Linked DNA regions of Homo sapiens: region 1 is linked to region 2. Evidence: promoter capture Hi-C in 16 types of primary human blood cells and fetal thymus (Javierre and others, 2016). All regions are on one chromosome and are shown on one strand. The core of a region is centred on a gene start or on the middle of the fragment in contact, and the rest is flanking DNA. Distances in the headings are between cores, read along the strand shown.

What was found. Contacts are between HindIII fragments. The CHiCAGO score rates a contact against its expected background, and 5 or more counts as called.
Region 1: a fragment that was not itself captured here is called in contact with the fragment with the promoter of TCF12 in region 2 in 7 of 17 cell types (fetal thymus, megakaryocytes, M1 macrophages and 4 more); the score reaches 6.9 in fetal thymus.

Annotation. Positions count from the first base shown.
Region 1 is chr15:57,087,149-57,094,236 of GRCh38, forward strand. It overlaps TCF12 (transcription factor 12), which reads left to right. Exons shown (of 21, transcript NM_207037.2): 5 at 4,641-4,743. Among named protein-coding and RNA genes, the nearest start is that of TCF12, 170 kb to the left of the region's middle. The HindIII fragment of the contact is 652 bases long and covers 4,779-5,430 here.
Region 2 is chr15:56,914,848-56,921,693 of GRCh38, forward strand. It overlaps TCF12 (transcription factor 12), which reads left to right and starts at 3,797. Exons shown (of 21, transcript NM_207037.2): 1 at 3,797-4,059; 2 at 5,045-5,141; 3 at 6,179-6,251. The coding sequence starts at 5,067. It overlaps TCF12-DT (TCF12 divergent transcript), which reads right to left and starts at 3,652. Exons shown (of 4, transcript NR_015419.2): 1 at 2,693-3,652; 2 at 2,218-2,365. RefSeq lists silencers at 2,957-3,096, 3,617-3,746, 3,917-3,966, 4,057-4,346, 4,397-4,836. The HindIII fragment of the contact is 11,533 bases long and covers 1-6,846 here.

The sequences.
Region 1 (7,088 bases), core at 3,855-6,354, 170 kb after region 2:
AATATTTGATTGCCCACATTTTGGGAGGCCAAAATGGGAGGTTCACTTGAGCCCAGGAATTCAAGACTAGCCTGGACAACATAGGAGACCCCATCTCGACAAAAAATAAAAATATTGGCTGGTCGTGGTGGTGTGTGCCTGTAGTCCCAGTTACTCAGGAGGCTGAAGTGGGAGGATTGCTTGAGCCCAGCAGATTGAGGCTGCGTTGAGCTGTGATCATGCCACTGCACTCCAGCCTGAGCAACAGAGCAAGACCCTGTCTCAAAAAAAAAAAAAAAATTTATATATATATATATTTGATTATGTGCTGTTTAGTTTAAATATGGAAGCTGCTTTGATCACTTCAGGTCTGTTGTCATACTGTAGCAGGGGTTAACATTTCTAAGTTCCTGCATCAGGAAATGAACATAGAGAAAAGTATGAAATCTACTTTATAGACCACATTTTATAATATCAAAGCTTTTATGAAGTATTATGCATTCATAGATGGAATTATTTAAGATTTACCAACCAAATTTTAGACAGATTTTAAGTATAGAAATTAATGGTTTTTGTAATCTTGCCATGCATCAACTGATTTTATCAATTATTAATATCTTGAGTGCTTTCCATTTTTATAAGATGGGAACAGTGATTGTTTAGGTTGTATTTGGAAATATTTTGGTGTTCAATAGCATATTGTGGCTAAAAGGCTGGTGTAATAGATAATTCTGATAGTATTGCTCTGTCCTTCATAATGTATGTCATCTCATGTATTAAAAAATCTCGTTTATCTTAGTTGCTATTAACAGAATTCAAGATCTTAATTAGGAGTCCTGGGAGCCATGTTTGACCCCTTTTATTAGCATAGTAACTTTCTATCAATTTGAAATATGCAGCATGATCATTGTATATTTAATGATGTCACTGATTTACTTCCTTTATATTTTAAAATTGAAATAGCATTCATTTACTGGTCCCATTGGTTGATCCACTCGGGCTCCAACTTAACCATTGTTTGCTTGGTTTTTGTTCTTTTCTTGTCACTGCAACCACTCCCTTAGGCCATTTACCTTCAACCTATGTTCTCCAGCCTGTTGGAAGTTACTACATTATTTTGCTTTGTTCTCTGCTATTCTGTCAGCCCCGTGAGTGCTCTGGTTTATGACATTTTCCCCTTTTGCTCTATGAGCAGCCATGCTTGTTGCCTAACTCTATGTGGTATTTCAGAAGAAGTTTAAACTCCTAGTCAACTAACCTATTTCTTTCATTGGGGCTATATTTGACAGCTAAGCTACCTTCTACTTTTAAAACTACATGGATGATTACATACATACATAAAAATATTTTGCTATTCTAATTGCTTTAGTTTTTTTTTTTTTTTCTTTAAACTGTGGGGTTTCTCCCTAATTTATTCTTATCTGGAAATTTCTGGTGTTTTAATATGGTTTCAGTGGGGGGTGCCTGGCTGTCACCTTTCTAGACCTTTTTACTCTGTGTTTATGAAAAAGATCTTTATTCCAAGTTGTGTAAGTTCTTGCTACTAGTAGTGTAGTTGATAAGCCAGCAGCATCAGCATCACCTATTTGTTAGAAATTCAGAATCTTAAGTTCTACCCCCAAGACCTTATGCATCTTAATCTGCATTTTAGCAAGATCTCTACTCGTTTGATAAGAACATTGAAGTCTACAAAGCATTGCTGTAGGTATCGGTCAACTAGATGATACATTGACGTGCTAATAGTTGTACATTTCTACAACTGATTTTAAACATATGACTTGTGATAATCGTATTTAAATATTTGTGAATTATTTCATAACTATTCATCTTGTTTCACCAAAAGTTATACTATGGGTGGGTATTACTACTACTGTGTGAAAGGAATGACAGGAATAATCCCAAACAGTAGCTACCCCCAGTCCTTGAAGTGAAGTTTTGGTGTACAGTTGTATGCGATGTAAAACTGTGACAAACATTTTGCAACTCTATTTGTCCCTTCTCCCAGCATCAGTTTGCACCTGTAGATGAAGAACTATTATTCCTTTCTTGTCTCTTGGACAGTGGCTTTTAAACAAAGTTCCATTTGCTAAATTGAACCTCTAAGGTGTTGGGGAAAATATCTAATTTTCATCCTTAAATCAGAGAAATTGTGCCTTACTGATACTTGATATGTGGATTAATAGTATATGCATATAATCTCAGTAAATAGGTATTGAGGATTCATATCCAACTCTTGCTTGTATTTGAGGAAAAAAGTCTATAGGCTCCTATTTTCTGGTGCACTGTGAAAATCCCAGTCATTAGCAGTGGGAACAGCAAAAAAGTTAGGTTAGCAGGGTAAAAGACACTACATGTAATCTAATCTATAAAGTTAATAAATTGTGTGTAGTCATTTAGCAACACCATAAATACATTTCAAACTTAGATATATTTGTATAGTGGTGCTTTAGGAAATAGTTTTTTTTTTTTTTTTTTAACTGTAGTGTTTTTACTTTTTGTTGTTCAAGAATGAAGAGAACTGGGAGGATACAAAATTGCTCTTTCATTTGCCTTTAGCATTCAAATGTGTAGCGTGAACAATGTAGCTGTTCCGCAAGCACATTTTAATTGGCATTTTTCTACAGTAGTATTGCTGTAGGATGACAAACAATATTTAAGTGAGTATTTTTATAGGTTTTGATGCCTTCCTTTGACTGTGTGCCTAAGAATGGCAGTGGGAAGGGTGGCAGAGAGAACACCCAGATGTACGTGAGATAGTGATTTGTCCCTTAGTATTCATTTTAAGTAGTAAAAGCAAATTCTATGGGCCAGGCATGGTGGCTCAGGCCTGTAATTCCAGCGCTTTGGGAGGCCAAGGCTGGAGGGTCTCTTGAGCCCACGAGTTTGAGACCAACCTGGGCAACATAGTGAGACCCCATCTCTTCAAAAAATTTTAAAAATTGATTGGGTGTGGTGGTGCACTACTGTAGTTCCAGCTACTCCTGGGAGCCTGAGGTGGGAGGATCACTTGAGCCTGGGAGGTTGAGGCTAGTCAGCAGTGATCACGCCACTGCACTCCAGCCTGGGCAACAGAGCGAGGGCCCTGTCTCCAAAACAAAAACAAAAACAAAAACAAAAAAATGGTAAGCTCTGTGGAGTGACGTTAGCTAAGAGCCATACTATTGTGTATATAGGGTCTACTAAATGTGGCTGTATCAGACAGGACTTATGGTTATAGTTACCAGAGAACACTTGTGGTCATAAGTTGTGAATGGCACCCAGATTCTTCTTGAATATCTATCACATGTCTATCAGTAATTCTGAAGTATGTAAAAATGAAACAAAGATTTATTTGGGAGTTAGCACTCCAGAAGATTAGTGTTAAAACAGAACAGCAGAAGGAGTTGTGACATGCATCTATAAACAATTGTAATGATTTGACAGTTATTTAGCCCTCTATTCCTAGCCCTTTCATTGAACTGACAGCATGCCTGCAAAGATAGTGAGGCCTGTTTCAGCCACATTAATGTCCTCTTAAATGGTAGCCTGCAGTCTGGGGAATGATAAATGTTCAGTGATTGATGATTTTTTTAGTCCCCGGGGATTCTGGGTGGTTTCAGGTTTCTGTGAGCCAGGGTAGTTTTTTCTCTTACTTGGGCTTCGTATACGTTTTTCCGGTCTTTACCATGTTGGTTTTAGATTGGCAGAGATATATATGACCTGCAGTTTTAATTAATAGAGTTCAAAGCCTTGTTTAGAAACAATATGATTTTGGAGGTAATGCTGTACTTAAAGAGTGCGTAAAAGTCTGAGAACCAGGACAGGTTTCATCACGTAGTAATTTTGTAACACTTGTTTTTGTTTGTAAACTTTATCTTTTTTCCCCTTTGCTTTAAAAAAATATGTTTTAAACTATAAGGAGAAATGTAATAACAGCTACTGTGAAAAGTAACATTAGCTTTATTGTTTTTAATGGTGTTTGTAATTTCATTCTTAAGAATTTAAATCAGCTATGTTTAATAATTGTTTTACTTTTTACATGGCTCAGTTTCTGTAGGAGTATATATTGTTCTACTACAGTAGTATTAAAATGAGTATAAACAGACCTTTTTTGTTGAATATTTGCCATTTAGGAAAGGATTCATTTCTAGCATATTGATTGTGAATTAGTTTTAGTATTTTAAGTCACTTGTAATTGCCTAACGCTTTATTTTTAGGGTCTGGGGGCAGGGAGTGAATAGGAGGATAAAGATAAGCATTTCCCTAATTTATTACAACTGAGAAATATATTTTCTTAATTTATTTTAAAAAATCCATTGTACTTTCCCTTTGGATGTAAAGTAATCTTAGAGGTAATTTTAGTAATAGTTTACAGAATTCTTATAGCTCCCCATCCCATCAGAAGAGCTGATGATACTTTGAAAACATTCGTGCTCATGGTTAGTGTTTATTTATAGAAACCCACTTTTCTTTACGATCAATAAAGAAAATGTTTTTTGACTTAAAATCTTAAAAGGAATAAAAGAAGCACTTCTGCTGTTAGCTTTTCAAATAATGAACAAGAAACTTGGTCAGAAATGACCATGTGTAAGTCTGTATATTAATTAGGTGAGTGTCATTATGCTCAATTAGCGGGACTGCCAAATAATCTCTTTAATACTCTGATCTTTTTCTCCCCCTAGGGTTTTACAGACAGCCCTCATTACAGTGATCACTTGAATGACAGTCGATTAGGAGCCCATGAAGGCTTGTCCCCAACACCTTTCATGAACTCAAATCTGATGGGTAAGTTGGTAATTCTCTGCAAGTAGTCTTCTCAAAGCTTCTTTGGTCAGAGACATTTTTTATCCCTTTGTCCAGGAGGGACAGGTAAGTATCTAGAAGAAAGTTCTTGAGTTTCTAGGGGCATCTAGGGCTTTTCTTGTTCAGCACAGCTTGAGGATCAAATGTCCAGAAAATTTGGGGTCTACTCTTAAAGCATTATTGTTTTGGTGTCAAAAAAAGAAGTGGCAGTGTTTTGATTGTCAGTTTTGGCAATGTCTTTGTGACCTCAAGCATTACATGTTTTCTGGGGCAGAGAAGTATTGTTTTAGGGGCATTTGTGATGTTACTATTTCTCTTAACAGTTGTATTATGTTGTAATTAAAAATGTGACATAGCAGTGATTTTAGGCAGACTTTACTTGCATTGGACAATATTTCTCCTGGCACAATTTGATTAAAACATAGTATATTTAGATATTGCAGCATTGTTTTAAGCACTTGGCTTCATACTAGGACTTTTTTGAAGTTTTGGTTTGAAGAAGTGAAGTTGCACTTTCAAGAAGGGTATGCACTACCATCTAAACTTGATTTTTATGTTTAGGCAAAACCTTTGTGGTTAATCATGCTCTGCAAAACACCCCTCCTTTCCTTTCTCCTTCTCTGTCTCAAATGAAAGTTTAAAGTTGTTCAGTCTAAAATTATAAACCCAAGCTTGTTTTTTTCAGTTTGAATACCATTTTTTTTTGTGTAAATATTTTACCCTTTTGCAAAACCTGATTGAAAATAATCTGTATGTTTTATGATTTTTTTTCTTGCTTATGCTGGGGCTGAAAATATTACAAAAACTTTTATCTGTTTTACCAGTTATAACTGTTTTTACCAGTTATGGCATCATATAAATATGGAAAGTTTGTGTAATTGACATTGATTTCATTACTTACTTTATTTCTTAAGGACATGACCTATATTGTGATCTTAGAATCGTCCTTTTAAGACACAGCCATACTAATCTGAGTAGATTACCCAAATCCCAAATCCTGGTGGTCTGCAATTTATTTAAAATGATTTGCTTTGCACAGTCTTTGTTTCCCTTATTCTCTATAGTGTCGAGGAGACAGAATCTGATAGTCTAGTGTGGATTTTGCCGAAGGCGGTTGACAGTTTGAAGCCAGAAGAACCATTAGAGTATGACAGAAGAGTGAAAAAACTGACACAAGCAATAAAACTTGTGTTTAAAATCACAATTTGTTTCAGCGTAAATAAATGCACATAGAAAATCATGGTATTATATGTATTATCATTCCAGATAAAAAAATCAGAGTTAGGTTTACAATAAATTATTTGGCTAGGGAAAACTTTCTAATTTATTTTTTAAATTTTCAATTGAGCTTGCCATCAAAGTAAAATCGATATAACACTCCAAATTATTTCCTTTCGGAGTACAACTTTTCCCCAAGTAGGATTTAATTTATATTAAGTGTAGTAGGGCAAGTAAAAGTCCGTGTTTTTGTAATTTTGGATTAAACTAAGCTTTCTTAATTGAGAATATAACTCTGAACTGTGAAAAATCAGAAATTGCTCTTTTTGTATTTATGTTCTTACCTTTATTCTTCACTCATAGAGATGACTTTTAGGCCCAATGGAATTTCATCATTAGTACAGCTTTGTACCAAGGTGACGATTAAAATTTTGTACGGGACAAGTGTGGAAATTAAATGAATCCTAAGAGGTATGCATGTCAGTCAGTTGCTCTGAGCAGATGTTGACTAACAATATATCTGTAATTCACTTTGAGGTAACATTTTCTCAGTTGGAGCAATTACGAGCATGTGCTTGTTGGTTTCTTTAGTTTTCAGATAATTATTAGAATACGTTCAATAGTCATCCATACCCTATGTATAAAATCAACATCTAAAAAAAGTCTTGAAGTAAATAAATATTTGTAAGTAGATTGATCTCTTAATTCAAATGAAAAAAATCTGCATTCATGTGAACTACGTTGTTTAGGTACTACTTTGTATCAGATGCAGATATACAAACCATACATTTTCTTTTCTTATTTTTGAGACAGGGTCTCACTTTGTCACCCAAGCTAGAGTGCGGTCGCATGATGATGACTCACTACAGCCTTGAACTCCTGAGCTCAAGCTGTCCTCCTTCCTTAGCACAACACCAGCTAATTTTTTAATTTTTAGTTTTGTAGAGATGAGGTCTCACTATGTTGACCAGACTGGTTTTGAGCTCCTGGCCTCAAGTGATCCTTCTGCCCCAGCCTCCCAAAATGTTGCAATTATAGGCATGAGCCACCATGTCTGGCCCAGACCATACGTTTTATTTGTGAGTTTTAACTACCTAATGTAAAAATGT
Region 2 (6,846 bases), core at 2,547-5,046:
AGAGGAGCACTTGAGCACAGGAGTTTGAGACCAGCCTGGGCTATATAGTGATACCTTGTCTCTATGAAGAAAAATTTAAAAATTAGCCAGGCGTGGTGGCATGCACCTGTAGTCTCAGGTATTTCAGAGGCTGAGGTGGGAGGATCACCTAATCCCAGGAGGCAAACGTGCAGTGAGCTGAGATTGTGCCACAGCACTTTAATCTGAGCAATAGAGTGAGACTCTGTCTCAAAAAAAAAAATCTATTAGATTATAACTTTCTTGAGGGCAGTATGGGTTTTAGACTTTCTGTCCTGAAACATTTAACACCATGCCCGGCATGTGAGAAATGCACATTAAATACTTTTCAATATTAACTTATCGATAGGGATTAACTTATACTACACAAATAGTACTATTAATTAACACTGAATTTGTATTACTTAGTTGTTTCTCTCTGAGCTTTTCAATAAAGGCTTCTGGCCCTATCTAGATGTGTCAGCAAAGGCCCAGAAATGAGTTATAAGTGATACAAAACTCCACTTTTTATATTCTTTTTGTCTTCTATATAAGTCAGAGCTATTATAGGAGATTCACTGGTGGGAATCATTTTCTCTTATTAAAAATGACACAAGCAAAGGCTATATTATGAAAAATAACTTCATGTTATAATGTCAAATGAATGATAGCTTTAATTCCAGCTCCTCCTTTTTGGGTCTACTATGCTCTTGGCACTACGTTAGGTGCATGGTACTGACAGATGCATGTCAGTCCGAACCCTCAAGGGGTTCACAATCTAATAAGGAAAATAAATTATAAAGTAAAACTATACGGGCCATAATAGATATGAAAAACTTCACCAATCAGTCCCTAAGTAATGAGGGAGCCCCTATGACTGAAGGTTTGGGCAGACAGATATTCTTCCTCTGCACTAGTTGTGTGAGCAGGATGAGAAGAGAATCTTGAAAACAGCATGAATCCAACATGTGGGATCACATACCTTCTCCTTCTGCAAGATTTCTTTCCAGTTTTACTGTGGAGTCATAGAATCTTATCACAGTGCTATGGTTTCAATGTGTCTCCCAAAGTTCATGTGTTGACAACTTAACCCCCAATGCAAAAGTGTTGAGAAGTGAGACCTTTAAGAGAAACTTCTAAGAGGGTAGAGCCCTCATGAATGGATTACTCTCTATTGTGTGTGCTCACTTGCCACGGGATAACACGGCAAGAAGGCCCTCTAAAGATGCCAGTGCCATGCTCTTGGACTTACCGGGCTCCAGAACCATGAGCCAAATAAACTTCTTTATAAATCACTCAGTCTATGGTATTCTGTTAGCAGTAGGAGAAAATGAACTAAAACACATGGGAATGGGGCCTTAAAAATGATCTAATCAGACTTCCTACCTGACGTTTATGTCTTTGCTACTAAAAAAATGGTCATTGGGGTGGTACTGTGTAGACCACACTAGATTACAGACAACAGAAAATTCGAATCCTATTGGTCTAATCAGTGAAGATAGACCTGAATTCAGAAGTTGCTTGATTCAGAGCCTCAAAAATGTCACCAAAGCCAGGCACGGTGGCTCACGCCTGTAATCCCAGCCCTTTGGGAGCCTGAGGAGGGCAGATCACTTGAGGTCAGGAATTCCAGACCAGCCTGGCCAACATGGTGAAACCACGACTCTACTAAAAAAATAAAAAATTAGTTGGGCATGGTGGCGCGCACCTGTAATCCCTGCTATTTGGGAGGCTGAGGCAGGAGAATCGCTTGAACCTGGGAGGCGGAGGTTGCAGTGAGCCGAGATCCTGCCACCACACTCCAGCCTGGTGACAGAGCCAGACTACATCTCAAAAAAAAAAAAAAAAAAAGTCACCAAAGATCAGATCTCTATGCATGTTTGTTTTCTTGATGTCTTCTTTATTTTAACCCGGCTAGACTTGTATTTGGAAGATGGCTACCCACCATCCAGGGGACCCGTTTTTTTGAGGACATGCAGAAAGAATGGGTTACCTCTGAAGCGCTCTCAGAAAATGAAAGAAAAACTTTTCCCAACAAAGACCAGGAAATTGCTCCTCTCATTGGCCCAAATATGTTACGCTCATTGCCAGCCAATAACTGTGGCAGGGAATGGGATTCTGCTGATTTAGGTTGGAATTATGCTACGTTGCTTAGATTGGGACCACATGCCCCTGTAAGTAGGCAGAGCAGGGATGTGACTCAGAACTGGGCTTGTTTACCAAGATAAGGAAGAGTGGATACTGGGGAGTCTAGGCCACCATAAGTTTCAGGTACAGCCAATGCAAAGCCTTGGAAATCCACCTGACAGCTCCGGTTGTACCGTCCGCCCTCCGTATCTGGGGTTTCCAAATTCCGGGATTCAATCAACTGAAAACAAAAAATGTAGTTAGGCTTACCAGGCCTGAAAATACATGAAAATATAGAGCCTAAAATATAGCCTGAAAATGTACTGAAAATATAGAGATTTCTTTGGATGATTATTTCCTAAATACACCTTAACAACTATTCACATAGCATTTGCATTGTATTAGGTTTTATAAGTAATCTAGATATGATTTAAAGTATATGGGGAAACACACCATTTTTATGTAAGAGACTTGAACATCTTAGAAAATCCAGAGTCTGGGAACCAATCCCACGGATATAGAGACAACTGTACTAACTACAGTAATGGCATATGGTAGCTGAATCTACCTCTCTTTCCATCCCAGTCCGGAATCCAAAGGCTCCTTCTTGCCATGTTGTCCTCGGGCGTTGGCTGCTTCCTCCCATTTGTTACTTTGGAAGTGTCTTCTTTCCTCAGTGTTTCTTCTGCGTGGGCCTTACCGGTCTTTACTGCACTCACTTACCTAAGAGGCAAAACAATGGCTGCCATTCAAGAAAATCTCACTTCAGCCCAGAATCGAAGAACTGGGGCTTATTTTGTCTTCTTTCTACTCTGGGGCTTCTCTGAGGCCAAGTTCAGAACTTGTGCACAAGACAGTGGCTGTGTGACAGAGCCACCCAGGGCTGTCTCCGTTAGATGAAGAGACTGGCTTGATCCATTCCCAAGAACTAGTCCCACGTGCAGTTCGGTTGCTCCGAATGGGATTTGGGTGCGAGGGGCTGACTGGAGATGTGGGGTCTGGGTGAGTGGGGTATTTGAGAACCTGAAGCTCACAAGGCTTTGTCTGGTTTGAGGTACGTTTTGCCCTTTCTCCCGCATTCGGCTCTGCATCGAATCTGACCGGCCGCGCCTACTCTCGGAACGGCCGAGGAGGATGGGTCTCCCGTCTCCACACGCGCGGTGTCTGCGCCGACTGCAGCCCTCCTGGACGGGAGCCTCTGGGCCCAGCTTAGGGTGGCGTCCAGCGTGACCTACTCGGGAATGGCAGCCTTCAGTGTCCTGCGGCCTCGGGTTCCGGGAAGCTCGGGGACCTGGGCAGCGGATCCAGATGCTTCCACAGCTGTGTCTCCGTCGCTCCGCTTCGGGGGCCGAGAACCAGCAAGACCAACGCGAGGAGGCGCCACGGTACCTGCCACCCCGCTCCCAGGAGGCCCGGACGAGGCTTCGTCGGCGAGCGGTCGGGGCCTGCTTCTCGAGGTGCCTGCGAGCGCCTCATGCCCCTCCCCACCGGCCCCAACTCCGTCCCGCCTCACCCGACCGCGGGCTTTGTCCACCCGCCGCGGTGCGGCTCCTCCCAGTCCCCGACAGCTCCTCCCCGCCCCCTCTGCCGGCCCCACTTCCTAGGCGGCGGAGCGGGTCGGGGAGGGAAGGGTTAACCCGCGGCTCTTCCCGGCGCGGAGGGATCCGGAGGCGAGCCGAGCGCGGTGGTGAGGCCGCCTCAGCGAAAAAAATGTCCGCCTGAAGAGACCCACAAGTTCTATTCGGGGGGACCGACAGCCCGCCCCGGGAGGAAGGGGCGGCCAGGCCCGAAAGCCGCCTCCCCCTCCCAGACCCGAGAGCTCGTGCGGGGCAAAGTGAACCGAGCCGCTGGGCGGTGCAAGGGGAAGCCCAAGCCCGTTCTCCCGGCCAAAGTGAACTTTAATCGGGGTGGTTGGATGCGGAGACGGGGCGGCAGGTAATTGCGGGCTAGCGAGCGGGAGTGGGGCGGCGCGGCGGGGCTGGGGGCTGCGGGGCGCCGCCGCGTCCCTGCCGGAGTGGGGGCGCCCCCGTCCCCCGCCTCAACTCCGCGCCCCTTTGTACAGCGCGAAACCCGGGGTCCCCTCCAAGTTGGGGAGCGGAGTGGGGGCGGAGGCTCGAGTCGCGGGCGCTCAGGCCCGCTGGCGGCGCGCTCGGCCTGTGCGCCCCGTTCGGTGCCCGACTCGGGCCGGCGCCCAGGCTCCGGGGCGCGCGGGAGATCGGGCGGCTTCGGCCGCGGAGCCAGGCTCATTGTTCGGCAGGTCCGGGGCAGGGCAGCAAAAGTGGGAGGAGGCCGAGCCTGGGGAGGAGGACGCCGGCCGAGAGCGAGACTAGTTGTCGGGGTTTCTGTTTTCTGTTTAAAAACGCCCCTTGGATGAGCTGGGGGTGCTTTCCGACCTCCTGGGCCCGCCGGGGACGTCCGGGCGGCGGCGGCCGCAGACGCGGGCCTGCGAGCGGCGCGTTCCCTGCAACTTGTCAGTTCTATTGTTGCCGAGCGAGTGAGTCACTTCGCATCTCCGCTCGCCGCCGCTCCGCTCGCTGGACGCCGAATTGCCCCTCACCCCGCTCCTCGAGACCCCAGCCGCGGCCGGGCCCGGCGCGCGGAGCACCCGGCGGCGGCGCGGAGCAGGGGGCGCCGAGGAGGTGGCAGAGACTGGCTCGGAAACTTGGGGGAGAGGCGGCGAGTTGCGGGAGCCGCCGCGTCGATCTCGGGCCGCGGCGAGGAACGCGTGGATTCCGGGACCCGGCGCGGGCACTGAGCCCTCCCGCCCCTTGCTCGCGCCGCGGTGGGAGCGAGTCGGGGTCCTGGAAGTCATCCCGGCGCCCCCAGCGCTCTTGCGTAATCTTCCCCAGTACCTCTCTCTGTTCCCTCACACACTTTGGGCCTCGGTGGTCTCTCGCTGAGCCCGTTTCCTCTGCCCTAGGACCTGCTAGAAGTGGCCGAAGATGAATCCCCAGCAACAACGCATGGCCGCTATAGGGACCGACAAGGAGCTGAGCGACCTACTGGACTTCAGTGCGGTATGAGAGCTTTCCATGGCATCTTGGGGTTCTGCTGAGGTTTTTGTTTGTTTGTTTGTTTGTTTCTTTTAAATAAAGGGTGAGGGGAAGCAACGTGGAGACTAGGCAGCGTGAACTCCATCTGCTTTCTGCTTAAGCAGTAGTTCTCAGGGCTGGAGTCCAGCTCCCCCAAGTTGGACACCTGAACTTTGATGTAATGTCTAGACTTGCACATTTAAAACTTTAATGCCAGAGGGGTCATTTGATTTAACCAGTTAAAAGGAGAACAATGTAATTATGACCTTTGGTTGAGTCACCCTCCCACCGCGATGATTATTGGGGATCTTGTACTTTATATGAAAAAGTGTTGTTTTTTTCTTCAGTACTCCTCACCATTTTCCTCTCCAGTATCAGATGTAGTTTATGGTACCTGAAAGATGTCAGCGACAAGAAAAGTAGTCCAGAGCTAGAATTTCGAGCCTTCTGAAACAGAGTACTTTTATTTTATACACACACACACGTGTGTGTGTGTGTGTGTGTGTATTATGTTCTTAACATGGGAAATGACTTAAAAACATCAACTGAAACCTAAGGGCCCACTGCTTTTATTTTTAATGGGTTTAATTCCTTTATTAACTGCTGTTAGGAGGCAGCACCTATACCTGCTTTATACAATTCAGTTATAATCCTTACTGTATGTAGTAATTTAATGGGCCATAATTCTGACTGTGTATATTGAGATATAATGTAAATGTAATGAAATTCACTTAGTTCTGCAGTAAAGATCATGTGTAATACTATACTGTTTAAACTTAATAATCTTGGACTCTTCCATGTAAATGATCGGGTCTTCAGAACAAAATGTAACCATTATTTCCAATTAATTAGGAAATAGTATCATTCAGTGTATTTGCCTCTCTGGATCTGAATGTATCTCCAATTTTATTTTAACTTCCCTCTGAAATTTAATAACTGATGGATGACTTTTGGTGGACTTTTGTTTGCAAGGAATCTAGAAGAATTTCAGGACTAACAGATATATTTGGGTTATTTTGCAGATGTTTTCCCCACCTGTTAATAGTGGGAAAACTAGACCAACTACACTGGGAAGCAGTCAATTCAGTGGATCAGGTAAGATGATGTCTTAAACTAAAGACTCATATTTTGGTGGTGTGATACATTTTAGTAGAAAAATAGAAAGCATAACATTTAAATATTATTGAATATATGTATATAAAAGATGGAATTGAGTCAAGTGATAATTAGTAAGATTTATTAATTTTAAAAGATGACAGTTCCCTCAGAAATCTGTAGGAAATCAGTAGTTTCGTTTACAATTATTTAAAATGTTAGTGGGGTAAATTTTCAAAATGAATAGAAACTTAGATTTATTTTTAAATGATAAGTATTAGATGACTGAATCCTTTCCTATATCCAGATTACATTATGATAATGTTTAGAGTAAGTTAAAGTAGATCTACACACTAGTGATCTTGTCTTTAAATTTACTTTCAATACATTTATGACTACTGTGCTCCATTTTAAAACATCCCATTTTTCTTAAGTATGCATTTTTTCTTTTTTTAACTTTTAAAAACTCATAATTTAAAAATATTTTAGAAGGAAGGTCCATTCCAGTGTGCAAAAGCTGTAACTTTTTATTTAATTTAAATTTATTTCTTTGTGCTTAAGAGATGAAAAAAATAACTAAAGCCATGACAGCATC